7 separate regions of the Homo sapiens genome follow, and all the other regions are linked to region 1. The links are contacts of gene promoters, found by promoter capture Hi-C in blood cells and fetal thymus (Javierre and others, 2016). All regions are on one chromosome and are shown on one strand. Each heading gives the region's core, a stretch centred on a gene start or on the middle of the fragment in contact. The rest is flanking DNA. Distances are from core to core; before and after follow the strand shown. Region 1 holds the start of VTA1 (vesicle trafficking 1). Region 2 overlaps FBXO30 (F-box protein 30). Region 3 holds the start of HEBP2 (heme binding protein 2). Region 4 overlaps SHPRH (SNF2 histone linker PHD RING helicase). Region 5 overlaps CCDC28A-AS1 (CCDC28A antisense RNA 1). Region 6 holds the start of EPM2A (EPM2A glucan phosphatase, laforin). Region 7 overlaps REPS1 (RALBP1 associated Eps domain containing 1).

Region 1 (3,759 bases), core at 129-2,628:
TCTATATTGTTGAAACTCTCTACCTCCATTGTATGTAAGCTCCAAAAATGCAGCAAATGTAGTCACAGCGCCTACTAATGCTTGATACAAAGGTAGCTCAATGAACACATACTGAATGAATATGGACCCTGCTTGAGGAAACTGAAGAACAAGTATAATAAAAATGATGCTGTAAAATTTGAACAAAATGAAGTAATGCACAGAGAATAATCAATTTGCTGCCCACAGAAGTGGTGACATTTGGGTTAGATCTTGAATCATGAGTTTGCCAAGTGCAAGAAAAAGGTGCACATTCCAAGAGAGTGGAAGATGGTAGGTCTGAAAAGGCCTTGCACATTTGAGAAACAGGGTACATTTGGAGTATGGCAGAGATAACAGTGACCAGATTTTAGCTAACCTTACAATATACACAACAATGGACGCATTATATCCAACTTCTCAACTCTAAATATCCTTTTCAGAATTATAATTGTCCAGTTACTTGTTTTATTTGCAGTAAAGTTAAGAGTACAGAATACAAAATAAAGTTAACACAGAATTACTGGCACTCCCTTTACTCACTACAAGTTTGAGCAGAGTTAACCTATATTTTTTTTAATCAAACTGTAAATTCAACGTATAACACTCAAAGTGAAAATACTGCTTTCAAAGGTCTCAACAGCGGGTATTATTCAAAGAAGTCAAAACTAAAAATTCTGCATGGTAGGAGAGAGCAGCTGGGTGGGGAAAGGTCAAATTCAACTGCTTATTTAGTAGCAGATACTCCCCATTTAACCAAATGAGTTTCTGATTGGGCTTGCATGCTGTCATAAATAATATTCACTTATTACTATGTTTTCAACTAGTCTATCGTCCTTTTATCCACATCACTCCTTCTTTCGGACACTCACCTTCGTTTTAAACCTAACTCAATTTATTTTCAGGATTCCTATTTGAGACAAGAAGCTCTTGTGTGTACACACACAGAGAAAACCTTGGAAGATTATATTCCACAGTTCAAGAGCCTGTGTAGTCAGTACTGGAGCATTTAAGCACAAGATAGGAGAAGCAGTGGACACCATGGTGTTTTGGGATTCCTACTGCCAGGGGGTGGGAACCCAGGGAGTTCCCTGGGTAGGCTCGAGGTCAAAGCTCAGGTTTAAAGCGAGGGGGGCGGGGCATGCCCCAAGAACCTCAGGGAGGTGTGTGGGCCCTAAAATGCAACTGGGAAAGAAAGGGCGCGGCCACTCGGAAAGACTCACAGTAATAAGCCACCACAGGGTCTCGCTTGTCATGCTCCTGAGCCGTCCTCAGATGATGCTGTATGCTCTTGAACTGTGCGGGGAGCGGGGGCAGCGGTGCAAGCGCGGCCATCTCTACTCCGAACTCACCACTTCCTACTCGCGCTCCACCGGCACTTCCGCTTCCGTCTGGGCGGTAGCGCGCACGAGCGTTCAGAGCAAATGCTGCCCACTCTTCCGTTGCTCAGCGACGTCAAGTCAACTACGGATCCCCAGCTGGGACAACCTCAGGGTGCTTGGCTCTCGGCGGTTAGAACCCACAGAAGACCCGAGCATTTTGGCGCTTATGCCGCGCATGGCGCTAGCGCTCTCTGCTGGTAGGAGGAAGGGTTTTTGTTTTGTTTTGCTTTTTTGTTTGGTTTGTTGTTTGTGGCAAAAGGAAGGATAGAAAAGGAAAAACAAGAAAATAATGTATGTTGACTGGGAGAAAGTATAAAGGCGAGAATTGCCTTTGGCGTCATTCAGGAATTACCACTTCCAGTTAATATGCCACATTAATATTCCATATAGCAGTGTCCTTTAGAAGCCTTTTTGATTTTAGAAACTTTAATTTCAATACTTGCATGAGAGAGAAATAATGTGTTTAAATTGTAAATTAAATTTTTCTATGTTGACATACTGGATAAAATAATCAGATTTCGCGCCAAATTAAGCTAAACATATGAAGCTTAAAGAAGATTGAACTTTTGTTCTCAGCTGGCTAGTACGTATTTTAGTGAATGAATAATCTGTAGATCACCTTTTTTTTTTCTGGAGAGTGATTAACAATTTGTAAAGTATTTTCATATTTATTATCTTGTCTTAATGTAAGATAGGGTGTTTGGGACGTTTTCAACGCTGGTAACTCTTAACCATTGTACAGTAGGCATCACTTTTCCTTCTACCCTCAATGACTTCAATTCTCTTCCTCTCCTCTCCATCCCTTACTTATATCTTTCAGGACTGTACACTTTATTTACTTCCTCCAATAACCTTCTTTATTTTATCTCAGTCCTCAGTTTTGACAATTCATCTTAAAACTAGTTTTCACTGAAATCACACTATCCCCAAGAGCCAAAATCTCCAGCTCGGAAATTCCCCTCTGCCTACTATTTTCTGATCACTCTCTCACCCCCAGAAGAAACCGCTCCATGTCCTCATATTATCCCACTCCACATACGTTGCCTAGACCTATTTGCAAAGTCCATCATCTTATTCTGGGTCGGGCTTTTTTACTCAGCCTGAAACTCAGTTCTGTCTTCTTCCCCAATCTCAGCGGCATATTTCCTACCACTGGAGAATGTATGGTTTCTTTCTCTTTCTCTTACTCCCACTATTTGGACTTTCCAGTCAAAAGTTGCTAGATTGGTAGAGAAATCAATGAAGAAAAGCAGAGTTGGATAACCATAACTGTTTTCTTTCTATACTCACAACTTTTCATTTATTTGTTTCCTATTACTTCTTGATTCTCAACCGCAGCTGCCCTTAAAGATCAACTTTAAAGCCCACTCCAGGCATTCTCACTTAATTGTTCTAGGTGGGATCCTAAATGTCAGTATCTTTAAAAGGTCCTCATGTAATTTTAATGTTACGTCTAGGGTTAAGGACCAGTGCTGTAGTCCACAGATGGTGTTTCAAACTTCTCTCGCTCTATTCAAGCTAGGCACTCAGCCCCAATTTCCTTGGTCTACAACAGCATTTCCTGCTATTGAGATTAAGGCCACCACCAGATATGAATTATTTTGCCTTGCCTCTACCACAACTTAAAGTAATAATAACTAGCTAGCAGCATTTGCTGAGCATCAACTATGTATCATGCATGTTTCTAGGGTCTTTATATTAATTTATTTAATTTGCACCACAACCCTATGAGGAACATATCATTATTATTTTACAGATGAGAAAAATAAGACACATAGAATCTAGATAACTTGCACTAGGTCACAGCCAGGAAGGATGAGTATTCCACATTAAAATCTAGGTATTTTGGTTTCAGAGCCTGTGCACCTAGCCATTACTACTTGACTATGATGTCTTTCTAGATCTTATGTTTTATCTTTTCTCTATTCCATCATCTTATGTCTGAGAAACAAATGTTCCTCTTCCTGGTAGAAGGCTGCACCCTCCTGTTACTCTCCTGATCTCCCCCTTCAGAAGTGAATTTTGCCACTCTTTCTCATTTGCATACATTCATGTGTACTCTTATTTGCATACCCTCATGAGCAGGACTGAGGGAAAAATAAGAAAGTGAAATGGTTGGAGTTGGATTTTACTCTCTGATCTGCCAACACATGCTCTTTTCTTTTCTTTCTTTTCTCCTTCCTTCCTTCTTTTTTTCTTTCTTTTTTTTTTTTTTTTTTTAGACAGGTTCTCACTCTGTCACCTAAGCTGGAGTGCAGCACACTATCAGAGCTCGCTGCAGTCTTGGACTCCTGGGCTCAAGGATCTTCTTGCCTCAGCCTCCTGAGTAACTGGGACCACAGGCACATAACACTATGGC
Region 2 (3,918 bases), core at 1,148-3,647, 3.7 Mb before region 1:
AAGAGCTTATAACTGATTGCCAAATTTGAAATTTCATTTGTGGACTTAACTTGTAGAAATGGTTAATTAATTGAACAAATCTGTCTATAGTTTTATATCAGCCTTACATTGGAACAGTATATTACTGTTTTAAGTATATTTTATCTAATACCATGTTAATTGTAATACTAAGCTGTAGGCTGATAGCACTTCCTATTTTAAACTTACTTTTCTCACTCTCTACCCTAATCGGGCACCTTTGCATATGCAGACCTTAATCCCTTCCTTTCTTTTTGAACCCAGTGCTTCTATATTCATTATTTTTCCAGTAATTGATCTGCAGGGTTGATGAGGGAATTAAAATAGTGGAAAAATATAAGGTAAATGCTTCCTCCTATGTTTCTCATATTACTATTTAAGATTTTAAAACAGTGGAAGGTTGAAACTGACTTTCTTTGATTTGCTTTTTTTGATAGATGATTCGTCCTACTCCATATATAATGCCTGGAACATATTACTTATGTGCTTAACATGTGTTTGAGCACCATTGACTTTTTATGGCCAATACAATGAAGTAATTTTGATTCAGTTTGATTGATGCCAGATCTGTAAGGTATTTTTATGTGGAATATGTAGTTTTCTGTGAAATGAAGAATCTCATTTGTCCATTTCATTATTTTCTTATATTATAATTCTTCGTATATTTAATACAAATGAGTCTCTAATTGAGGCAGAATTTTGAATGTAGGGAACATAAGAATGAATGAGACTGAGATGATTCTGACTTTCATGGAGCTTATAGCTTTCCTGTGGAAATAGATATTATACAGAATGATGACTTACTTAGAGTTGTCACTAGTATTACCAAGGAAAAAGACAGTATGTAATGAGTACACACAATATGGGATCCATTACCTTGTCTTTGGAGTATGTGGAAAAGTAACAGGTAAGCCAAGACTTAGGGTTGAGGCAGCAGGGGCGTGTGGGGAGGAAAAGGGATGTGTGTCTGTGTCTGTGTGTTAGAGGTAGAGGCAGACATTAGGAACAGCCTGGAGGCAGCAGGTTATTTTGAATACATTAGATGACTCTTATATTTTAAAATCATGCTAATTTGCACTTCTTTATATTTACTTACCTCCTTATGTATTTTAATGAATTTTTTAAAAATGCTTTTTTGAGGGCAATATATTTATGCCTTTAATGACAAGATCTCATTTCATTATATGGGAAAATGCCATGTCTTAGAACTATTTTAATGAATTGCTTGTCAGCCACAGAGTATGAGTTGGCAAAGAACTTCTCTCAGAGAAAATTGAAAGAATTGAAAACATTTGATGATTTACTAATATTTTCTGGTCCAGCGAAACTTTTCCAACAATTTAAATTCAAATATAAATTATTAGAGATGTTAGTTGTTTTCTACTGTGCCTACTGTGTCACTGTTAACTGATAAATAAGAGATTGATGTTTTTAAACCTGTTTTACAGGATTTACAAGCAATTGCAAAATACTTTATAAAGGCATGTTTAATTTGATAGTAGTGGTCTTGATTAGGAAGAGGATGAATCTAGGAGAGTTTTAAATTCTGAAGCTGAGGATTCTATTCCCAGAATACTCTTGAGTATTGACTACTATATTTTCTTAACTTTTTTCTTAATATAGTTAATAGGAAAATGGAATTGAAATTCACTCCTCATTTGTATGGCTATTTTAATAATTGTTAAATTTAGTAATATAATGTTCCATACACTTATACTGAGCATTATCTATGTAAATTATTCTTCAAATAATTTAAAACATATATATTCAAAGCAGAGTAAAATGCTATTATAATTGGAAGGGACCAAAAGACTTTCTTGACCACAGGAGTGATTAAGTGTTGGGATAAACTACAAGCAAAGTTGTGTAATCTCCATTCTTCACATAACATCTTAACATTGGATCACCAGTTACAGAAGTGCTGCCTAAGTTTTTTAAACTTTTATAAGTAAACATACCTGTTATTGTCCATGGATGTTGATCAGACGTGGAGCTAGAACATACAGTCCTAGCTCTGCCACTTACTAGGTAGATGACCTTGGGCAGATCACTTGCTCTTTCTGAACCTCAGTTTCCTCCAGGTTGTTATAAAGATGTGTAAAGAAGGATAAAATAGGTACATAATTACTGTTCTCTCTTCCTTCTAAGTCTACTTCAGAAAATAATAAATGTTATGAACTTGTTGCTATGGATGCTTTTTTGAAACCTTATTCAAAGGGGGATGGGTAGTGTAAAAGAGACTATTTGTTTGAAGCTTGACTACTTTCCTTCTACCTTTGAAAATTATTGCTGTTTTTGCTTTTAACTCAGACCCTGTTGCAAGCAGTTGCTATTTTAAGCACTTTTGAATTAAGTGATGTTTTTAAGATATGTTTTGCCTGGTGATGTCATGTGATGGTGTGTACAGTAACATAAAGTGTCCCTAAAACTTCTGAGAGCACTGGTTACTTCTGGTGAAACTGCTTGTATTTTTAGGTTTCTCCCTTAGTAACAGTCAAGCTTGTAACCTTCAGCATGTGAGATCAACTCAGTCTAGTTCCTGCAAAATAAGAAAGCTACAGCTGTTTTCACAGTCTAATCACTCAGTAAGATTTGTCATAATTCTTAATAAAGTTTTTCTTTAAATGTCTGGTTAATTTACAAATGTTTGTTATTAGTCTTTTATTTCTATATGACTATTTTAGTATGTCTATTTATATATTTCTATACTTATGTCTAAAATTCATGAAGATAAACATTTAAAAGTATTCAACTCATAATTTGTAGTTTTTAACACAATTAAAAAATATAGGTTTGGCGTTGAATATATACCTTGTCTTTTCTTTGACATCATTGAACACCATAATATCAACTCGGAACTTTTCTACTGAATCAAGAAAAGCTCTGTTGATGATGATTCAGGTACACTTTTGTTATTTTAGTTTGAGAAAACTCATACCTCAACTGGAGAAAAAGATAATAGCAATTGAGGAGTGATTAATTAGTTACCTGGAGCCAAGATAGATTTTATGGAAAAATATGTCAGAGAGTTAATAATCTCTTACGCACTGAGGTGAAGAAAACAGGATAAGAATCACCTTCCTATCCAGAAAATTCTTGTCTACTACAATGTAATTTAATTTTGGAAATGTTGAACTGAGTTGCCTGTGCCATATACAAGTAGAAATATATCATAAGTAATCCATTGTAGAGAGTGAAGAGGAGTTTGAAAGAGGAATCTGGGCAGCATGTATAGACGGATTTTCAGCTTATGTATGGTAATTGAAACTTTTGGAGAAAATGAGAGCACCCAGGGAGAATGTACAGAATAAGCAAAAAATGACACAAGCCCTGAAGAAATGCAATATTTAAATAATTATTATTGAGTAATAGTTAAGAAGACTAAGGGTAGGAGAAAGACTGGAGTGACATCATGAAAAGTAAGAGGATGTAATAGTCCTAAAATAAGGGATTAGTCATCATCAGGATACAATGGCCAAGGAAGATGGGGTCTAGAAAAATATGCCTCCAGATTTAGTATTGAGGTTCTCAGCAGAGCAGTTTTAATAGGGGTAGTAAAAATGGGGCCAGAATAGAGAGTTAAAGAATATATAGGAAATTAGACGTTTTTTTTTGGTGGTTTTCAGTTTTTCTTTTGAAAGTTTGACTGGATAAGAAAAAAAAAATGGTGGTAAAGGGGGGATATTATGTTATTATTTCAATTATTATTATTATTTTTTGAGACAGAGCCTCACTCTGTCACCCAGGCTGGAATGCAGGGGTGCACAGTCATGGCTTACTGCAGCCTCAATCTCCTGGGCTCATTTGAGCCTCCTGCCTTGGCCTCCCAAGTAGTTGGGACTACAGGTGCATGTCACTATGCCTGGCTAATTTTTTTGTTTTTATTTTGTAGAGACAGGG
Region 3 (4,388 bases), core at 1,238-3,737, 3.7 Mb after region 1:
GAAAGTGATTAGGTCATGAGGGTAGAGCCTTGTAAAACATGTCCAATAAAGCTGCCTTGCCTCTTCCACCACATGAGGGCATTTCTGAGAAGGTTCCATCTATGAACCAGGAAACGGGCCCTCACCAGTCACTGAAACTGCCAGCACCTTAAACTTGAACTTCCTTGTCTCCAGAAATGTGAGAGAGAAATTTCTGTTTTTCATAAACTACCCAGCCTACGGTATTTTGTTACAACAGCCTGAACAAACTAAGACTTCTGTTTTAAGGTATTTTTGTTCAGGTCTAACTATATTGCAGTCTTTTGTTTTGGGAGCATATAATTTGCACCGTGTCTTATATGAAGGGCATGCAATAGACTCATTAAATGAAGTGATTATTATCTTGTGACAGACCTCAGTAACATATACAACAAAGCCAGTAGGAAAACATCACAAAATGCATTAGACCTGATTTTATGGAAGGGTGAAAAAGCCTTTTGAAATTGCATTGGAGCTAAACTGTGAGTGCACGCAAGTAAAACTAGCAGTCAGCAAGGCTATAAATTATCTACCACTTACCGTACAAACACAGTCATTTCGGCTCTATCTTCAATGAAGACATCTGACTCTAAAGGCCTGGGTGGATCAAATTGCTGTTCAGAGGGAATATACAGGGAAATGGTAATGGTAGACTCACTAAAAGGACCTGAACCAGGCTCCACGTAGCTTGTCACTGGAGCTGTCATCTTTATTTTCATCTCTGTGACATAAAAATGAAAGCAAATTTAGTGTATTTTTGACAGCTTTAAACATTTAACCTATTCTTTTTTGATCTGGGTTCCTTGATTTACTTCACATTGTTGACATATTTACCTTTAAGATAATTTTCATCTTAAAACAGTAAGGCCAAAATTACTCAATTGCTCACTGCCCACATTAAACCACTTTCTGTAATACTGATATTCTGGGTTAATAAATTCTTAATTTTTAGAGATAAAAGGGGAAATTAGAGATTACATGGTCAGTAAATTATTTTTTCTTACCATTCAGAAAATGAGGTCCCACAGGCTAAGAGACCTGCTAAAATATAAATAGCAGCAAAGCCAGACCAAAAGCTATGACTTGATGCTTCTAATCTTGGTACCTTCTTGCCTCCTGACGTCTCTGATCCTACCAGTCACCAAATTATCTTGAGGTGTTAGCCATAGAAAAGGACTTATCACGAGTTACACCAAACCCCAGTTCATCCAGCAAAATCAGAGAACAGAGGTTGAAAAGTAATACCCAGTGTAACCCTGGTCCTGAGGAGTCTTGTCTGAAAACAAGACAAGTCTTTGATGACTTGCTTATTTTTCCATTATAAAGGATATTTCTTTAATAAGCTAAAACTCAATAATAAGCCCGGGGACTCTTTCACAATATGCATAATTACAAGGAAAACTGCTTTTACCTTTCTCGTTTTTGCCTTGAATGTAGCTGTTCAGTTTCGTAAAGCCCGTCTGGATGGCTGAATCCCAGTCCATAGACTCCACGGACGTGCTGACCCACTTGGCTGGTCCATAGTGTCGGATCTCATAACTTCCGGGCTAAAGTGGAACAGAGAAAACTTCGAGAAGCAATTCTAAGAGGGTAGGAGTGAGATGCAAAAATACCGGTGCCATGATCTCGGGTCGACCTGGAGCCGTCCTGTCTAGGGGCTGCACCGCCCCGGGGTCCGGCCTGAGGTCCCCGCTCCTTAGGTCTGGGAGGTTCCCCTCCACGAGGTTCCCCTCCTTGCGATTAGGGACCGCAGCGGCCCCAACCCCACACGCTGGGGACTCGATTCACACTTTCAGACAAGCATCTATTACACCCCCTCGGTTCGGAGGGTTCCACCGCGCGTTCTGGGACGTAACCAGTTCCTCCCCGCCCCACCACCCCGCAAAGACAAGAAATTGAGATGGGACCTGCACTGGGGGTAGCGGGGAGGGTAGAGCTAAATGACCGGGGTTTCTCGTTTGCGTAGCATAGTGGGTAGGGACTGGGACCATTTAAAAAACTGTACTTTTTACTTAACTCTATGGGACCCGCTGGCCTCACTGCAAATCAGCCGGAAGGCGGGCCCAGCCCCTCCGCTCCCGAGTCGGCGCCTACCTGGGGGCCGGCGTCCTCCGGGGCCTTCCAGCCCGGCGTCTCCACAGCTTGGGCCGCCGCGTCCTCGGCCGCCCCGGGGTCTGGCTGGAGCGGCTCGGCCATGGGCGGCGCTGACGCTCTGGGAGCCTGGTCAGCCGCGCAGAGGCCCCGCACCCCGGGCCGCCCCGCCTGCGTGTGCGCGCCCCGCCGAGGCCCCGAGTCCCCGCTCCGCAGACCCGGTCCCTCCTCCCGGCCGGGCTGGAGACCCGAGCCCACCCGATGCGTCTGCCTCTGGACCGCGAGGGGGCGCCGCCACCAAGGCGGGGCCGGCTCACGACCCCGGACAGCTCCGGCCGGAGTTGCGCGTCCTGCCCCCGCCCCTCCGCGGCGACAGGGAGCCGCACCTCGCTTCGGCCCGCCTTCTTTTGAGGCACTTCCGCCCCCGCCCCGCCTTTGTTTTTGAAGGAAAGGCACACACAGGTGGCCCCGCGGGCAGTAGGGGGTGGCGCTGTTTCTGTGCAACCGGTTTGGGAACCTCTGCCGCGGCCCCGCCCGCGCTGGGAACCGCGGGCGCTGAGCCGCCTCGAGGGTGTCCCAGCGCACCGCAGGCAGAGAAAGGCAGGAGGTGGCGGCTGGCGACCCGACCCCCGCGGCCCCTGCCCGCACTCCTGGGGCTCAGCCAGGGCGAATGGCCGTACTCATCCCAAGAAGTTGTCCTAGGTCCCAGACAGCTTTCAGGGTCCCTTGCGGAGGAGGTGGTGGGACCACAGACACATGGAGAGAATCTGGAACTGTTCTGGTTTCTGAACTTTTCCCCGACAGGACCCCAGACCCTCTGAGTCATCCCCGCAGGCTTAACGAGACTCGGGGAGAGTTAGTGCCGAGGCCAGACACTAGTGCTTTTCAAGAATTTTGGTTACCAGGGCTTTCCCGAGCCGAGTGGGGTGCGGCTCTGTTCCCCAGCACCCCCTTTCCGCCGGCCAGGCCGACTCCGCGTTACTGTCCCCTGCGGCGGGGACCCGGCACGGCTCCGGCGCCCCCCAGAGGACTCCCATCGTGGGCAGCCAGAGCTCCGAGGCTCTCCGGGGCGACGTGACCGCCGCAGAGGCAGCAGGCACTCCCCACGCGAAAGCCAACGGACAGGAGGGTGGCCACGTGAAAAGCAATGGTGACATCCCCCAAGGGTGAAGGGGAGTAGGCCCCTGTGAACAGAAGAGGCAGCCGGGACCATTGGCAATGCCATGGAGCCAGCACCCCCTAGCCAGGGTGCTGAGGCCAAAGGGGAGGCTCCCTCCCTCGCAAGGAGACTTCCAAGAAGACGAAATTGCCTTTCAAGGCCAGGCACGGTGGCTCACGCCTGTAATCCCTTCATTTTGGGAGGCCAAGACAGGGGTGATCGCTTGAGCCCAGGAGTTCGAGACCAGACTGGGCAACATGGCGAAAACCCGTCTCTACAAAAATACAATAAAATAGCGTTGATAGTAGAGTGGAGAGCATAGCTGCCTTCCAAAAAAAAAAAAAAAAAAAAAAAAGCTGAGTGTGCTGGGGTTGTGATCTCAGCTACTCGGGAGGCTGAGGTGGGAGGATCGGCTTGAGCCTGGGGAGGTCGAAGCTGCAGTGAGCCGAGATTGCGCCACTGCACTCTAGCTTGGGTAACAGAGTGATACCCTGTCTAAAATAAATAAATAAATAAATAAATAAATAAATAAATAAATAAATAAATAATTATCTTTCAAGAAGGGTTTCTAAGAGCAGCTTGTCCTTCAAGAGAAATGGGAAGGAGGGTGGGGTGACTCTTCTGCCTCCTCACCTATGGAGGAAGAACAGGAGTGGGGGAAGATCAATGCCTGCAGCGACAAGGGCGCTGCCCAGGAAGGGAAGGCTGTTGCCACCCCTGAGAGCCAGGAGCCCCAGGCCAAGGGCGCAGAGGCAGTACTGCCTCAGAAGAAGAGGCAGGGCCCCAAGCTACAGAGCTGTCCACTCCCTCGGGGCGGAGAGTGGCCCTACACCAGCCCACGCTGAGCAGAATGAGTAGCTGGGTGGGCCAGGTGGGTGATCTCTAAGCTGCAAAAACTGCTGTTCTTGTGAGGTTACTGCCTGGACCTGGTGCCCTGGCTGCCCTCCTGTGCCCAGAAAGGAAGGGGCTATTGCATCCTACCAGCTACATTCCCTTTCCTTCTCTCCCTCCTGTGGATTCTCCAATCGGCCATGTGGCTTTCCTCGTAAGGCCAGTTGAAGACGGTCCCCCACAGCCTCCCAAGTTAGATTAGTGATATGAAATGTGCCTTTCCCTGGCC
Region 4 (4,310 bases), core at 489-2,988, 3.8 Mb before region 1:
TGAATGTTTACTCAGTTAAGAACTGGACAAAGGGAGAGCATTGCTAGAAATTCTGGTGTTGACTTTTCTGCAGTTTATCATTATCACTGATAAGTACCTTGAGGCACTAATATTGGAAGAATCAGGCTGAAAGAATACATCTGAAGGAATGTGCAAATTATAATGGTGTACATAATTTAAAAGATACTGGATAGGTTTTACCAGAGAACAGAATAAATAGTTGAAGTAATGTTTTCTGGTTTGGTAATATGTCTGTTACAAAATTATTGTGGGAAACATGGCACATATTACTTCTCACATTCCATTGGCTAGGACTGGTCACAGGACCAAACCAAGCTGGGCAGTCATTTCTCAACTACTCTATACTTTGAGTGGAAATAAGTGGATTTTAGTTGGCAGCTGGTTATCCATAACAAGGTTTTTTGAACTTGGCTGCACCCTGGAATTTTTTAGGGATTCTAAAAAATAAAGGGAGTAGTGCCTGGGCCCTTCTCCAAGACATTCTGACTTAGTTGGCTCGACATCAGGATTTTTTTAAGTTCCCCTGGTGATTCTAATGTGCAGTCAAGTTTGAGAAGCACTAATCTGTGGTCCCCCATCCTGCGACATTACAGTTTGGTTATTGTGAAATGTGGTTTAGAGCAGGGGTCCCCACCCCTCAGGCCATGGACCGGTGCCAGTCCGTGGCCTGTTAGAACCGGGCTGCATTGCAGGAGGTGAGTTGCGGGCAAGCGAGCATTACCACCTGAGCTGTGCCTCCTGTCAGATCAACAGTCAGTAGATTACCATAAGAGCATGAATGCTATCGTGAACTGCATATGCGCAGGATCTAGGTTGTGCACTTCTTATTAAAACCTAATGCCTGATGATCTAAGGTGGAATAGTTTCATCCCTAAACAACCCCCTCTCCACTCCACCCCTCTCCTCCGGTCCATGGAAAACTTGTCTTCCATGAAACCCATTTATGGTACCAAAAAGGTTGGGAACTGCTGGTTTAGAGTGTTCTCAGGATGATGATAAGTAGCAACTACCATTTATGGAATACAGGCCAAATTTCTAGTACTGCTGTTGTACTTAAATTATTTCTAACCACAATCCTGCTATCATCCCCATTTTAGAGATGAGAAAATTGGCACAGAAGACTGGATAACTATTCCAATGCCACACAGTCAGTAAATGCCAAAGCTGGAATTAGAATGAATATAAGACTTCAAAGCATTGCATTCTCACCTTTAAGCCACATCGCTTTGCTAATGTGAGACTCTGCTAGACAGTTGCTTTTTGGGTTTTCAGAGTTAATGATTCCACAATAACCATGTTATTAATATTATTATGGTTAGTGTGATACATTGTGTAACTGGCCCAATTCCCTTCCAACACTCCCTCTACCCTTCCACCCCCCATATCCATGCTCTTTGCCATGTGCAGTTTCACCTAGTAAAGAGGTGTAGTATATTTCTTCACCACTTGACATTGGGTCCATGGATATGTCTTGCTTTGGTCTGTGGCACCTTAGTGGTTTTTAAGCACTTTGAAAACTACTTGTGTGATTGGATTTGCAGTAATACACCTCAACCATTGCCATAAAGAACATTCCTGAGTTACTTTGCTGATCCAAGGAGAGGGGATAGGAACTACATTAAGCAGAGCCAAACTGCTTTTCCAGAAACCTAGCCTAGATTAGCCTCCTTCAGCTAATGTGCAGATCTATGAGAATAAATGATTGCTATATCAAGGTATTGAGCTTTGAGGTAGTGTGTTACACAGCATGTTTGTGGCAGTAGTTAACTGATAAGCTACTATAGCATAACTTTTTAAAGTTCCTGCAGAGTGACCCACTTTCAGTATTCCAGCTTATGCTTTGAGGAAAACTGGACAAACATAAACACTTAGGAAATTAAGAGCTTTCTATATTATTCCACTAAGATAAGAGAGGATAAGATGCTTTAAAAGTAGTTGACCATAGCCAAGGATTGATTTTAATCCATCACCTGCACATTCATAAGTGAAGCACGGGCTAAGGGAATAGAATTCTCATGATTGACTTAAACAAGCACTGTCTGATACATAGACTTTTTGCAATTATGTGAATGCTCTATATTTGTGCTGTCCAGTACAGTAGCCACTAGTCACATAGCGCTACTGAGCACATGGGGCTAGTGAGACTGAAGAGCTGAGTTTATAACATTTAATTTTATTTATAGTCATGCATCACTTAATGATGGGGCTGTGTTTTGAGGAATGCATCATAGGCAAGTTTGTTGTGTGAACATCTTAAGAGTATACTTACACAAACCTAGGTGGTACCGCCAGCCTACTACACACCTAGGCTCTATGGTACAGCCTGCTGCTCCTAGGCTACAAACCTGTACAGTATATTCGGTACTGGATACTGTAGGCAGTTGTCACACCGTAGTATTTGTATATTTAAACATATTTAAATATAGAAAATGTACAATAAAGATATGGTATAAAAGATAAAAAATAGTACACCTTTGTGGGGTACTTAGCATGAATGCAGCTTATAACACTGAAGGTTGCTCTGGGTTAGTCAGGGAGTGAATGTGAAGGCCTGGGACATTACTGTACACTTCTGTAGACTTTGTAAACACTGTACACTTATGCTACACAAAGTTTATTAAAAAATAAAGTAATGCGGCTAGGCGCGGTGGCTCACGCCTGTAGTCCCAGCACTTTGGGAGGCTGAGGCATGCAGATCTTGAGTTCAGGAGTTCAAAACCATCCTGGCTAACACATGAAACCCCGTCTCTACTAAAAATACAAAAAAAAAGTTAGCTGGGCATAGTGGCAGGCGCCTGTAGTCCCAGCTACTCAGGAGGCTGAGGCAGGAGAATGGCATGAACCCAGGAGGTGGAGCTTGCAGTGAGCAGAGATCACGCCACTGCACTCCAGCTGGGCAACAGAGTGAGTCTCTATCTCAATAAATAAATAAATAAATAAATGCATTATGATGTTACAATGGCTATGATGTCACTAGTCCATAGGAATTTTTCAGCTCCCTTATGGAACCACTGTAATATTTGGTCCCTCATTGACCAAAATGTCATTATACAATGCATAACTGTATTGAAAGTTAAGTAGTCACATGCAGCCAATAACTACCTTATTGGATTTGCTTTGGCCAATAGTAGCTAGAAACTACTTCCTTGGAGGTGCCAAGGAAATCACTTCCTTTGAATCATAGGGCCACCTTGTTCCTAAATAAAGGTTCAGTCATCAGGGAAGGAGGATAGACCTTAGGCAGGTAAATAATGTCACTTTAGTTTCTTTTATGGTTATTGGTCTATTCATATTTTCCTTCTTGGGCCAGTTTTGTTCATTTGTATTTTGTTAGCAAAATTTTATCACTTTATAATTTATCATTTTATCTAGATTTTTCAGATTTATTGAATAAAGTTATACTTAATATTAAAATTTCTAAATCTCGTGCATCTTTTTGTTTTTGCTCTTTAAATCAACTTTATGATATAATTTATGTATAAGAAAATTCAATTTAAAGTATATAATTTGATGAGTTTTGACAGATGTATACTCTGCAATCATGTGTTGAACATTTATGTCACCCCAAAGCCTGCCTTCCTGCTCCTTTACTGTCAGTCACCTCTTTATACTTCCTTGCCCCTGGTAACCACTCATCTACTTTCTGCAATCAGGTTTTTGCCATTTCTAGAATTTCATGTAAATGGAATCATATAGTATATAGTCTTTCACATCTAGCTTTCTTCAGTTTAGCATAATGCTTTAACAGTTCATTCAGGTTATTTTACAGAAGTCTCTTTTTATCACAGAATAGTATTCCATTGTGTGACTATGCCACAATTTGTCCATTCACCAGTTGATGGACATTTGGGTTTTCTTCCAGTTTGGGGCTTTTAATAGTAAAGCTGTTAACATTCAAGTTTAAATTTTTGTGGATTTATGTTTTGATTTCTCTTGGATAAATACCTAAGAGAGGGATTACTAGGCTGCATAGTAAGTTATATTCAATTTTATTAGAAACTGATACTTTTCCAAAGTGACTGTGCTGTGTTCAAATGTTGGAGAGTTCAGTTCTGTTTGAGCCATACTCTCAGTGTTTTAAATTTTTGACTATTTTAGTATATGAATAGTGGCATCTCATTGTGATTTGTGGGTTGAATTTGTATTGCTTTAATGACTGATGCTGGTGAAAATATTTTCATATGCTTATTTTACACTTATAGGTCATCTTTGGTGAAATGTCTATTCAAAATTTTTGACTTTTTTAAATGTTTGTCTTACTATTAATTTGTGAGAGTTCTTTATATATT
Region 5 (3,954 bases), core at 296-2,795, 3.4 Mb after region 1:
TAATCCCAGCACTTTGGGAGGCTGAGGCAGGCGGATCACAAGGTCAAGAGATGGAGACCATCCTGGCCAACATGGTGAAACCGTGTCTCTACTAAAAATACAAAAATTAGCTGGGTGTGGTGGCACATGCCTGTAGTCCCAGCTACTCGGGAGGCTGAGGCAGGAGAATCGCTTGAACATGGGAGGCGGAGGTTGCAGTGAGCCGAGATTGTGCCACTGCACTCCAGCCTGGTGACAGTGCAAGACTCCATCTCAAAAAAAAAAAAAAAATAATAAGTTATATGGATAGACATTTACAACATTCCTACATATATGGTTTTTTATAAACTGCCTTCATCACTAGGCTATAACTTCCTTGAGGGCAAATATGTTTTATTTGATTTTTGTATCCTAAGCACATTGCAAAGAACATAACATAAAGTAGGTGCTCAATAAATGAGGTAGGAATGAATGAAACTTCCTGATTTTATTTCCGAAAGTAAAGTGATTCCAGCAACCCCTCTTTAAACCAAAGTAGGCCCAGTCATAATGCTAATCAGATGGCATCACTACTGCCCAGGCAAGTGCTCTTTTTTTCTTAGCAGAGCAATTCTGGCTACACCGGCCTTTCTGCCAAGTGGTTTGAAGAAGGAAACCATCCTAAAGCTTAGGGGAATCATTGACTGATTGGTTCTTTAAAAAACAAAACAAAACAAAAAAAAACGTAATATTTGGGATGGTTTCAGGTTATGATTCTACAAAATTTACTTTTAATCCAACTTCAAGTTCAGACTTCCTTTTTAAGGCCAAGAGTAAACAGGATTAGGGGATGGTTATCAGCAAGATAGGAAGATGATTCGTTCTCCCAGTATCCTGTATCCAGGTTCTTGGTTCTTGCCACATGAACACTCCAGCTTTAGAAGAAGGTTTGTGTTACAGACTTAACCAGACAGCAAAGGATATCATGGGTAAGCAGACTGGCAGTAGTGCATTACAACCCTTCCTTCAGTTTTCTCTCTTTTTCTTGAATTTTAGTCCAAATTCAGCAGTATTATCATGGAGAACCACAAGGCTGCTAAGAAATATGTGTAGAGATAGCTTACAATATAGCAGAGGAAGAGGAAGGAAGGGAGGCGAGAAAGAAGAAAGGAAAGAAGGAGAAGAAAGAGAGGGAAGGAGGAAGGGAAGCAAAGAAAAAGCTTCCATAACACTTCGTTTATATCTCTATTTTAAAGTATTTGTTTAAAACCCAAACTGCTACCACTCTGAATTTTAAGAAATTGGCATAATTCCTGTCAGTGGGGAAATATTAAATATAGGGGCAAGAGAAGGGATGAGACTCTAGGTAGAAGACCCATTGTGTTGTCTGAGAGTTGGATGTGCACAGGTGGGCAGGAGGCTGAGTTTAAGGATATGAGATTGAGAACATTGAATTATTCTGTATAATAAAGTTGGAAGAATTGTTCACTGGGGTGAGTTTGGGGGTTGGGATTATTGCTAAGAGATAGCCAAAAAAAAAAAGAGGTCAGAGGCAGAGGGAGAAAGGCCTGTCAAAGTGGTAGGAAGGAGGAAGACTTTAAAAAGAGAAAGTCTGTTATTCAATTTGCAACTGTTAATGTTACTGTAAATGCACACACTGACACACACACAGGCACACACATCCCCCATGCTCCCAGACAGCAACATAAGTCCTCTATAAGCTCACAGCTTGTCATGAATGAATCATTATGATAATCAAAGAAAAGGGGTTGTGTTCCACATCTTTGGGAGATTTCATGGAGATTGAAGATGAAATGTGTGTAACAATAAGGAAGTCCAAAAACTGAACTGTGTCAGATGAAGCAGGAGCTTAGACTAAGTCCAAGTTGAATGGGAAAATGACAAACCGCTCGAAGGAAGTAGGTCGTATACATCTTTATATTCTCAAAGCTTAGTATAGTGTCTGGCATGTAACAGAAACTTAACAAATGTTCATTAAATGAATGAATAAATGAGGAAAAATTAGATTCATATGATACCAAGTGGCAGAATGGCATTATTAAATCAAGTGTCAACATAACTCACATTTCTTATTCCAGAATTGGAAATCAGGTTCATCTTAGTCATACCTGCCTCTGATCTCCAGGTGGCAGTATTTTATCATATTAAATTGTTTTGAGACCACAGATTCCATTTACTTTTTGAGAAAGGAGAACAGAAATGTATTTAAAATAAAAATTCAATTCTGTAGCTCATTTCTATAATTGTACAGAACTAAGTAAGTGATAGAATATGATTACATGAGATTATAGATTTATTCCCCAATTTCAATATAAATGAGAATTATTGGTAGTTCCTGAATTCAACCAGTTTCCTAAACCTTGAAGGTAAATACAAATTGGTGTGCTTTGTTTACAAAATGTATGGATTTCTTCAAAGTATGAAAATCTGTGTGTGTGTGTGTTTGTGAGAGAGAGAGTGAGAAAGAGTGAGAGAGAGGAGAGAGAGAGACACAGGGACAGAAAGAGACAGAGAGCAGTAATATGTTTAGAAGTAATTCACTTCCAGGCCAAGCACGGTGGCTCATTCCTGTAATCCTAGCATTTTGGGAGGCTGAGATGGAAGCATCGCTTGAGCCCAGGAGTTCAAGACCAACCTGGGCAACACAGTGAGACCCTATTTTTTTTCATAAAGAAGTAATTAACTTTCAACAAACAGGGTAACCAGATTAAGTAGAATGGCCAGTCAAATCTAAGTTTCAGATAAACAAGGAATACTTTATTCATATGTCTCATGCAATATGTAGTGCATACACTAAAAAAGTCTTCCTTGTTTTTCTGAAATTCAGATTTAACTGAGAGATCTGTAATTTCCTTAGCTAAATCTGGCAACCTTACCAACAAATATTCTGTTGTTACTGTTAATTCCAAAATAACAGAACGTTAAGGGAGGCCCCACTTCTACCAAAAATAAAAAATTTAGCCTGACACAGTGGTGTGCACCTGTAGTTAACAGCGATTTGGGAGGCTGAGGCAGGAGGATTGCTTGAGCCCAGGCGTTCGAAGTGGTAGTGCACCATGATGGTGCCATTGCACTCCAGCCTAGGTGATAAGAGTGAGACTCTATCTCTAAATAAATAAACAAATAAATAAAACAAAACAGAACTTCAAGTCTGCAAGGCAAAAAATGGTGTTTCCTTATTTGGAGAGATAAAAAGGAATTAGCAGGCAGGGGCAGCTTTCTTGTAAGTCTAACTTGATTGCTTTTTGTGCTCTACCAGTTTGGAGTCAAGCCCCTCAGCTGAGTAACTTATCTTCGGGAAACTGAGCTCTCTAGCAAGTGCAGATGGTAAAGCCTAATTATTTTATATACATGCAGTGTTTTACAGCACCTGTGAGTCTGGTTGCAAAAGCCAGACCCTGTGAACAATGGAAAAGATCCCAGGCCCCTTCACCCTCTAATTTATATTTTCCAGGAGTACCTGATCCATAGCAGCTATGATAACAGAAACAGATGAATTGCTTAGGAAGTAAATTCTCTTTCAAAATGTAAAGGACTTTCTGGTAAATCAAATGAGATATAGATTTATACACATTTGGATATTTAATATAAACATTCTGTCTTCCAGGTAAACTGTGCTTCAAAATTTCATTTGTAAATAAATTCCTGAACTCAAATAAATTTTCCATAGAAACAATATTATGAGTGGCAGTCAGGTCTTTTGGTTACCTAGTAAAGGTATATAATTAATTGATTATATGAGTGAAACACTGTATTTGCAGTTAAAAGTATGTTTTTTTTTTAAAAAAAAAAGGTTGTATTTTTTAAGAGTAAAAATTTAAAAAGCTTTTTTTTTTCTTTCAGACAGAGTCTTGCTGTGTCGCCCAAGCTAGAGTGCAGTGGTGTCATCTGGGCTCATTGCAACCTCCGCTTCCTGGATTCAAGCAATTCTCATGCCACAGCCTCCCAAGTAGCTGGGACTACAGGTGCGCACCA
Region 6 (4,014 bases), core at 189-2,688, 3.6 Mb before region 1:
TATCTTTTAACAGCAATTTGAATAAACCGACTCACATGCCACTGTGATTTAATGTGTGATTTGCTGCCGAATCAGCTGTGTTTGGCCAGCCCTTCTGTCTTCACATTTTTCATAGTGTTTATCCTTAAGCTTAGCAACCAACCAAACTTCGAGTGGAATATCAACATTCAAGAGTAAAATGTATTATTAGTTTTCTAATTGTTCCACAAGAGATTGAGTTTGTGTAGTTTACATTTTTGCACTTTCTGTTTTACTTATATCCTCAACGCATGAAATTTTGGCCTGTTCCCCTTTACTATTCACAAACTTCCAAACACTGGTAAAAATGCCTTTGTGTGTCTTTAATTCACGTAACAGATTTGTGTTATGTTAAATGTTAGTGAATATATAAACCTAAGAATACAAGGATAATTTTGTTAAAGAATCAAAAAGTATCAGGACATTCGTTTGTCTTATGGCAGAGACAAATTGAAGTTCCCCACCAAGATATACGTATTTTGGATTTGGGCCAGACAGCTAAAAAACCTGTTTCAACTTAAAACCCAAAAAGGTTTTAAGTTGAAAAAATAATGCTGACTTTTGCTGAAAGTAAATTTTAAACAAAGGTTTTTTTTTTTAATTTACTCCATTAAAAATGCATACATTTGGACAGAGCGAGACTCTGTCTCAAAAAAAAAAAAAAAAGCATACATTTGTAGTCACAGAATTAGTTTTTGTTTTGACCTTGAAAAGGACTTGAAAGTATTTACTCCAAACTTACTTTACACATACTAAAAATATAGTTTTTGAAAAAAGAAAGTTGATGTGGCTTTTCAGACAAGGGAATGGTAGGTAATGTTTTGCATCAGCTCCGGGTCTTGGGTGATCTCCACCAATCAGAGATCCTTCAGAGCTCGTAGGGTCTAGAAAGATCATTATTTTACACCCTCATTTTACAGACAAAGAACCTGAGACCTGCTAGAGTAAGTGACTTGGTTAAGATAGGGAGCGCTCCAGAGACCAGGTCCAAGATCTTCCCCCGTTTCACAATTAGAAGGCGGCTGTCTAGAGGTCATTCCCTTCCTTATGATCCTCATAAAGTTAATTTCCAGTCTCTTGGAGAGAGAACTGGACGATCGCCTGGCTTAGAAGTTTTCCTCCCTCCCCGAACCCCGTTTTCTCTTCCATTTCTTCCGGTCGCGTGTCCCCAGCGCCCACAGGTGGAAATCAACCGCCCGCGGGGTTGCGGGGCACAAAGAGGCAGCTAGCGGCTCCGCTGACCCCTTCCCGCCGGCCTGGACGAAGTCTGGGCTCGGGAGCCGCGTGATGCATCCCAAAGAAGGCGCAGAACAGCACGTGTTCTCCCCGGTGCCCGGGGCTCCCACACCACCGCCCAATCGCTGCGGCCGCCTAGTGCTCGGGCCGCGCCTGCCGGCCGCGGGGACTCCGGGCCCGGGTATTCGCGCCGCCGCCGCCCGCCATGCGCTTCCGCTTTGGGGTGGTGGTGCCACCCGCCGTGGCCGGCGCCCGGCCGGAGCTGCTGGTGGTGGGGTCGCGGCCCGAGCTGGGGCGTTGGGAGCCGCGCGGTGCCGTCCGCCTGAGGCCGGCCGGCACCGCGGCGGGCGACGGGGCCCTGGCCCTGCAGGAGCCGGGCCTGTGGCTCGGGGAGGTGGAGCTGGCGGCCGAGGAGGCGGCGCAGGACGGGGCGGAGCCGGGCCGCGTGGACACGTTCTGGTACAAGTTCCTGAAGCGGGAGCCGGGAGGAGAGCTCTCCTGGGAAGGTATTGCCAGCAGACGCCTGCCCCCGGCGCAGAGCGGGAGCTCCGGCCCGCACCCCCAACCGGGGCCTCGGCCTCGGGCAGGCCCCGCAGGCCCCGGCGGCGCGCGTCCCGGGCTTTTTGCCCGCGTCCCTGCGCACTCCCCGGGCGACCTGGGCTGACCCTGCTCTGCCGGCCACGCTGTCGCCGCCAGCCGCGCCTCCGGCTTCCTACTGATTCCCTAGACCCGTATAGCGCTCCCGGCCGCCTTCCCGCCCACTCTGTTGCCTGCCCCTCTGACCTGGTTTCCGCACATCCAGTCCTCAGCTTCTTTCCAACCGCGCCTGCGTCACGGGCCAGTGCCCTTCGTCTCCCGCCCGGGGCTCCCTTCGCCCTCCGAGTGCCCCTCGACCTCCGAGTCCCCCCCTTCGCGGGTCCCTTGGCTGCCCGGCCGCGCGCCGCTGATGGCTTCAACAGCCCAACTCCGCCTTGGTTGGGTTTTGTGTCCTCATTTTCCTGCTCTAATTCACTAAAAAAAACCCAAAACGATCCAACCAACGAAACTAGCGTTTTCGCTAATCCTAGACAGCAATGTGCTACTTAGATTTTTTTCATAGATATTGAGAATGAACTAATGGAAAAACGTTGAATATTTCCCTTTTTGGATTTTTTTTTCTTTTTTAATCCCAGATATATGACAATTGAGACATGACCTGATTTCTTAAAATACTAAAACAATACATGCTGGTTGTAAAATAATAATAAAGAAATGTACATAGTGAAAACTTACAGTGTTTCCTCCACACATCTTAAGCACACTGCTTGTACACATTTATGTATGTGATATATGCATATACTTTTTTTTTTTACAAAAATTGTATAGTAATTCTGAATTTTTGCTTTTCTTGCCTAACAATATGTTAGGGACATCTTTCACTGTCACTACACGTAGATATGTATTTTACATGTAGATGTATATTTTAAATGGCAACAAATTATTCTGCATCTACCAATGTGCATTTAGGTTCTTTTCAGTTTTCCTCTGTCGTAAACAGTAGTGGCTTAATTGAAATTCCTTTTACAGATATCTTTGAACATTCGGGAGTGTTTCTGCAGAGTGGATTCAAAGAAGTGAAATTATTAGGTCAAAATGCAGTCATTTTTTTTAACACTTCATTAAAGACTGCTAAATTATGCCCTAAAAGGGTGATTATCTAATGTCGGCTCCCGCCAACAGTGTCTGAATTGAGACAGCTCCTTTCTTTAAAGGAAATGTGCAAGGTTGTAGACTGGAGTGGGTGTGACTCAATAGTTGAAGTCAATGAAATGAATGTCTCTTTAGAAGTTTATATGAAAAAAAAAATGGGCCATTTAGCCTGTAATGATGTAGAAACAAAGAATCAGTAAAGAAGATTAGAGTGGAATGTGTTTATATATTATCCTTGTTCTCCTTCTCTACCTCACTGGGCTTATGGTCTGGTAGCATTTATTGGTCTGTTATTTTACCATGACAGAATTGAAAGATACCCTCTTCAGTTTATCCTTTCTTTACAGAGTATTACTATTTTTCATAGTATTGTAGAATTATTTTTTAAAATAATATCTGATAATTGTAATAAAAATGGAAATGGTGTGAAACAAAGATCTTCCCTTTCCCTAGTTATTTAGCTTTTCTGATAGTCCTCCCTATGCCGTTAATAGTTTGCTTATGTTGCTATTTCTTAAGGTACCACAAACTTTTGTTTTTAATTTTTCTAATAGTTACCATATAAGTTATATATAATTTTAAAAGTTAAAATTAGGCAATAGATATTGACACCTACTGGATGCTCATAAAATTAACCATCACACTTGTTATGAAATATGAGGAATTTAGCTCAAGTTCACTCTCTGTCTTCCCTGCTGATTTTTTTTTACTATTATTTTCAGTTTTTTTGATAAATATTTTTCTTTACTATCCAAGCAGGAATTATTTTCAGTTTTGTATTAAAAATTGACTGTTGACTTTCTAGGAAGTTACTCCTATAAGAGAGGATAAGAAAAATATTACAATTTCTTCCTGTCTCACTTTGGTTTATTATGACTTTTACATTATCAAGTTTTATATAATTTATATTCTATTTTCTAATTGTTACAGTGCCTTCTTGTTTAAGGTAAATAGACTGATTCTAAACATCGTAAATTAACAGAGAGCTTTATGAGAAGCAGGGTAGCCAAGTGTTTAAGAGCAAGGATTCTGGAGCCAGATTGCCTGGGCTCACCAACCAGTGTGGGATTT
Region 7 (4,049 bases), core at 1,221-3,720, 3.2 Mb after region 1:
AAATTTTTTAAAATGTGAACTACTTAGTAGTTTTACAAGTAGGCATACAAGAAGTTGTAATTATCTGTAGAACGTGTGTATGTGATGAGACTGAACAATGTTTTTCAACAGGCATTCGAAAGCATTTGTGGAACTTGTGGATTTGGGTTGGGAGATGAGTATTGAACAGCTGGTAGGCAGAAGTGCGTTATTTGCCCTAATCTGAAGCCCTGGAGGAGCAAACCCTGTAGGTTTAAAGCCTTTTTTTATCATATCTGCTTTTGAAACAGAGGACTTCCTAGAAGTTCTTATCTAATGTATGTGGTGAGCATTAATGCTACTCTGTTTAATGATTCATAGCTGCTAGTAGGAGTCTGTCTAAACAGTATGTTAGGAACAGGTTTTAAGCTTTCATCTTTTATATTGATCCAAGCTAGTTATCCACATCTCCAAAATTTAAAGCCACATGTATAGGTGTATGTAGTGGACTGCAAAGCATTGGACCAGGGTTTTGAAGGCTGGGTCCTTGACCCTACTCTGCTGTTAACCAGCAGTGTGACTTTGGGTCAGGCACTTTCCATTTTCAAGCATAAGTATGTTCATCCACAGAATGAAGGCAAGTTTCTTCCAACAAAAATTCTGTGAAGAATAAAAATGTCCACACACAGGTCTCTGTTTTAGAAGTTAAGTCTGCATTAACTATGACTAAGTTGAACGAGTTCGATCTTTTTAAATGGTCTTGTGTTTTACATTGCTTTTTTAAAGGTGGGATGTCTTACGTGCCAGTGAAGGGCAACGAGGAGTCCCAAATTCATCCTGTTGAAAAGGGACAAATAGTAAATATTTTGGGCTTTGCTGGCCACATATGCTCTCTGTTGCATATTCTTCTTCTTGTGTTTACAAAACACAAAAATGTAAAGCCATTCTTAGCTCAGGGAGATACAAAACAAAGCCTGTGGTCTGCTAACGAAGGGTGCTGGTAGTGTGGTCTATGGTACTCTCCTGTTACAGCTTTGGAGTAGGACTTAGAGATCTGGTCAGAACATGCTCATTAATCATACTCTTTTTGCTCCTTTTGAAGAAATAACAAAGTATACCTTCAAGTTAGGATCTAAATAAAATTAAGGAAAAGCCTTCTCTGTTCTATTTTAGTTTGTCTTTGAGGTGAGAAAGAGTTGAAATAAAACTTTCAATCTTTTTAATGGGTACACAAAGACTTTAGAACTTGAAATGTAATTTTTAGGACAGACACATTAGCATTAATGAATCTTTACTTCAAACATGTTTAATTCAGTGCAAGTTATTTTTATGTTTTGCTCAATTTTATTAACATTCAAAAAATAAATTTCCATTGTCTTTTGGCATAAAGAGAGAGCTTAAATATTCAGGGTTCAGTTACAAGTTGGAACTCCCTGGAGCAGAACTCTTACAGTTATGTATACTAAATAGCAGTCTAGATATCTTGAAGGCAATTTACTTAAAAATTGGTCTAAGACATAGAAATATGAGACAAAAGGAGAATATGTGCTTAATTCCCTTAAGGGAGTTTGGGATTGTCTGAAAACACAGTCCTCCATTGCTTTCTAAGTGGGAAACATTTGGGGCAGCTCATATCTAATGCTTAGTTCTCTACTTAACACTGGGCTAGGCATTGCAGGCATCAGAAGAGGAGTAAGAAGCTCTTGAGGATCTTGTCAATTATAGGAGTGCTCATGTATAACATAAGGTATAATGTATGCCATAGGAGAGGTGCCAAGTGTTATGAAATGCTAAGGAGGTATGACCAAGAAAGGCTTTTTGACTTAATTCAGATGGACTTTAAATTAGGGTGGAGTGAGGGGAATGGAATTATGAGGGCTTCCAGGCAGAGAAAAGTGATCAGAAGTGGAAAGTGTAGGAGCCTTTTCAAGGACTAGTGTTTTCGGGATAACAGAATATAAAATTAGAAAGAGGCCATATTGGGAAAGACTCTGAAGAAGGGCAGCAGATAACGATATTTCAGCAAGCAATGGAGACCCATTGAAAAGTTTTTGACTTTGAGTGGCAGAAAGGGTAAGGAATGACACTCTTTCAGTGGTCTGGATTGGGTGCTAGGTCATGGACATCCAACCAGGGTGACAGCAGTAGAATAGAAAGGGAGAGACTGGATATGTTATTGAAGGACTGCTGGGTAGCCACTATATGAGGTGCTTTGTGGAATAATGTTTAATTGAGGCCAGATTATCAAGGTTGGATGGAGAGCTTTGAACTAATTGTGTAGGTAACAGGGAGTGGTAGATTTAAGAGAAATGACTCATAAAGCAGTGCTTTAGGAGTCGTTTGTCAGGGCCACAGGAATTAGAGGAATAAAACTGTAGACTTAACTTGGGGGCTGATTTTGTATGGCAGATACGAAGTGAGAAACTGGGCCAGTGGTACTCAAACATGGGAATGAAGGTGACAATGGGGAAGAGGCATTTGGCAGTGTCTAGAGACATTTTGATTGTCATAACTAGAGGGGAGAGAGCAGTTCTACTGGCATCTAGTGGGTAGAGGCCAGAAATGTTGCTAAACATCCTGCAGTGCACAGGACAGCCTCCACAAGCATTATGTGCCCAAGATGTCAATAGTGCTGAGACTGAGAAACCCTAACCTGGACTATAGTGGTGGGAGTGGGACAAAAAATCAGATATGGGCCGGGCACAGTGGCTCATGCCTGTAATCCCAGCACTTTGGGAGGCTGAGGCAGGTGGATCACCTGAGGTCAGGAGTTGGAGACCAACCTGGCCAACATGGTGAAACCCTTTCTGTACTAAAAATACAAAATTAGCCGCATGTGGTGGCGCATGCCTGTAATCCCAGCTACTCCAGAGGCTGAGGCAGGAGAATCACTTAGAACCTGGGAGGAGGAGGAGGTTGCAGTGAGCCAAGATCGCGCCACTGCACTCCAGCCTAGATGACAGAGCAAGACGCTGTCTCAAAAAAAAAAAAAAAAAAAGAGAGAGAGAGAGATGGTAGAGATTATGAAGGTAAACGTGATAGGCCTGGGTTATTTGGCAGTGTTTTGGTGAGAATACAGTGGGGCAAGGATTATTCTTTGGACACCACTCACAGTTAGAAAAGGGGCAGGAAGAGGGCTTACTTTTTAAAAGAGACAATGATGAGTTTGGTTTCAGACATTCTTAGATGGCAATTCAGATCTCTTGGAGACAGTGGGAAGTGGGTGGAGATTTGTCCACCCCAACTGCTGGTTCTTACAGCAGTTCAGGTTCAGAGGTTCGGGATTTCTTCCTCTGTTTTGCTCACCTAAGTGTTTAGGGACGGGAGACAGTGTCACATAGACTGGGCATGCACATACATATCAGGACCTTGGTTGGTACAGTAGTTTTCGGTGTTTGTTAGTAAAAGTTAGGAGGAGACTGAGTCATCTGGGGGCATGAGTGTAGAGAACAAATAACACCGAGTCCAGAACCAAACGAGGAAGGAGCTGGCATTTATCGAGTGCCTATTATGTTCCTTTAACCAGGCAAATCATTTTCATGGAAGAACTCATTTGATTCTTGCAACAACCTTGTGAAGTGGGTGTTATTCTTGTTTATTTTTATTTTTATTTTTATTTTTTGAGACAGTCTCTCGCTCTGTTGCCCAGGCTGGAGTGCAGTGGTGCAATCTCGGCTCACTGCAACCTCCACCTCCCAGGCTCAAGCGATTCTTCTGCCTCAGCCTCCTGGGTAGCTGGGACTACAGGCATGCGCCACCACCACACTCGGCTAATTTTTGTATTTTTAGTAGAGTCGGGGTTTCACCATATTGGCCAGGCTGGTCTTGAACTCCTGACCTTGTGATCTGCCCACTTCAGCCTCCCAGAGTGCTGGGATTACAGGCTTATTCTTGTTCACTAAGAACTTGATAGCAGATAAGTTAAATAATTTATTTGTGAATATTCGTATCTCTCCCTTACTATTATTCACGTCCCAGCTCTTACCTTCTCTGGTCATGTGGTTTGGGAGCAGGGTGAGGAATAAAATTCAGTTGGTCTGATTTTGACTTCCCCATAGTTCTTATGAACAGTAGGGATTTTAGAATATCTG

Evidence for each region. The method cuts DNA at HindIII sites, captures the fragments that hold promoters and counts their contacts. A CHiCAGO score of 5 or more calls a contact.
Region 2: a fragment that was not itself captured here is called in contact with the fragment with the promoter of VTA1 in region 1 in 1 of 17 cell types (total B cells); the score reaches 5.3 in total B cells.
Region 3: a contact is called between the fragment with the promoter of HEBP2 here and the fragment with the promoter of VTA1 in region 1, in 1 of 17 cell types (non-activated CD4 T cells). The highest score is 5.6, in non-activated CD4 T cells.
Region 4: a fragment that was not itself captured here is called in contact with the fragment with the promoter of VTA1 in region 1 in 2 of 17 cell types (naive B cells and total B cells); the score reaches 8.8 in naive B cells.
Region 5: a fragment that was not itself captured here is called in contact with the fragment with the promoter of VTA1 in region 1 in 4 of 17 cell types (non-activated CD4 T cells, total CD8 T cells, fetal thymus and 1 more); the score reaches 10.9 in non-activated CD4 T cells.
Region 6: the fragment with the promoter of EPM2A here is called in contact with the fragment with the promoter of VTA1 in region 1 in 3 of 17 cell types (total B cells, non-activated CD4 T cells and total CD8 T cells); the score reaches 14.8 in total B cells.
Region 7: a fragment that was not itself captured here is called in contact with the fragment with the promoter of VTA1 in region 1 in 1 of 17 cell types (total B cells); the score reaches 13.0 in total B cells.

Annotation. Positions count from the first base shown.
Region 1 is chr6:142,144,882-142,148,640 of GRCh38, reverse strand. It overlaps VTA1 (vesicle trafficking 1), which reads right to left and starts at 1,378. Exons shown (of 8, transcript NM_016485.5): 1 at 1,242-1,378. The coding sequence starts at 1,353. NMBR (neuromedin B receptor) reads left to right here and starts at 1,519. Exons shown (of 4, transcript NM_002511.4): 1 at 1,519-1,597. RefSeq lists enhancers at 677-1,197, 1,452-1,591, 1,355-1,649. The HindIII fragment of the contact is 1,973 bases long and covers 1-1,949 here.
Region 2 is chr6:145,807,953-145,811,870 of GRCh38, reverse strand. The region is part of intron 1 of FBXO30 (F-box protein 30); the gene reads left to right. The region is part of intron 1 of EPM2A-DT (EPM2A divergent transcript); the gene reads right to left. Among named protein-coding and RNA genes, the nearest start is that of FBXO30, 4.9 kb to the left of the region's middle. The HindIII fragment of the contact is 245 bases long and covers 2,275-2,519 here.
Region 3 is chr6:138,402,322-138,406,709 of GRCh38, reverse strand. HEBP2 (heme binding protein 2) reads right to left here and starts at 2,487. Exons shown (of 4, transcript NM_014320.3): 1 at 2,113-2,487; 2 at 1,430-1,565; 3 at 559-739. The coding sequence starts at 2,214. It also overlaps the pseudogene MARCKSL1P2. RefSeq lists enhancers at 2,231-2,751, 3,273-3,793 and silencers at 2,022-2,871, 3,002-3,071. The HindIII fragment of the contact is 19,528 bases long and covers 1-4,388 here.
Region 4 is chr6:145,957,482-145,961,791 of GRCh38, reverse strand. All of the region lies in intron 1 of SHPRH (SNF2 histone linker PHD RING helicase), which reads left to right. Among named protein-coding and RNA genes, the nearest start is that of SHPRH, 4.7 kb to the left of the region's middle. The HindIII fragment of the contact is 5,758 bases long and covers 1-4,310 here.
Region 5 is chr6:138,764,247-138,768,200 of GRCh38, reverse strand. It overlaps CCDC28A-AS1 (CCDC28A antisense RNA 1), which reads left to right. Exons shown (of 3, transcript NR_161205.1): 2 at 3,823-3,944. Among named protein-coding and RNA genes, the nearest start is that of CCDC28A-AS1, 7.5 kb to the left of the region's middle. The HindIII fragment of the contact is 730 bases long and covers 1,181-1,910 here.
Region 6 is chr6:145,732,944-145,736,957 of GRCh38, reverse strand. EPM2A (EPM2A glucan phosphatase, laforin) reads left to right here and starts at 1,438. Exons shown (of 4, transcript NM_005670.4): 1 at 1,438-1,760. The coding sequence starts at 1,460. It overlaps EPM2A-DT (EPM2A divergent transcript), which reads right to left and starts at 2,089. Exons shown (of 3, transcript NR_038246.1): 1 at 2,038-2,089. RefSeq lists enhancers at 1,024-1,073, 1,094-1,143, 1,154-1,213 and a silencer at 1,374-1,963. The HindIII fragment of the contact is 8,125 bases long and covers 132-4,014 here.
Region 7 is chr6:138,982,986-138,987,034 of GRCh38, reverse strand. The region is part of intron 1 of REPS1 (RALBP1 associated Eps domain containing 1); the gene reads left to right. Among named protein-coding and RNA genes, the nearest start is that of REPS1, 3.2 kb to the left of the region's middle. The HindIII fragment of the contact is 4,162 bases long and covers 390-4,049 here.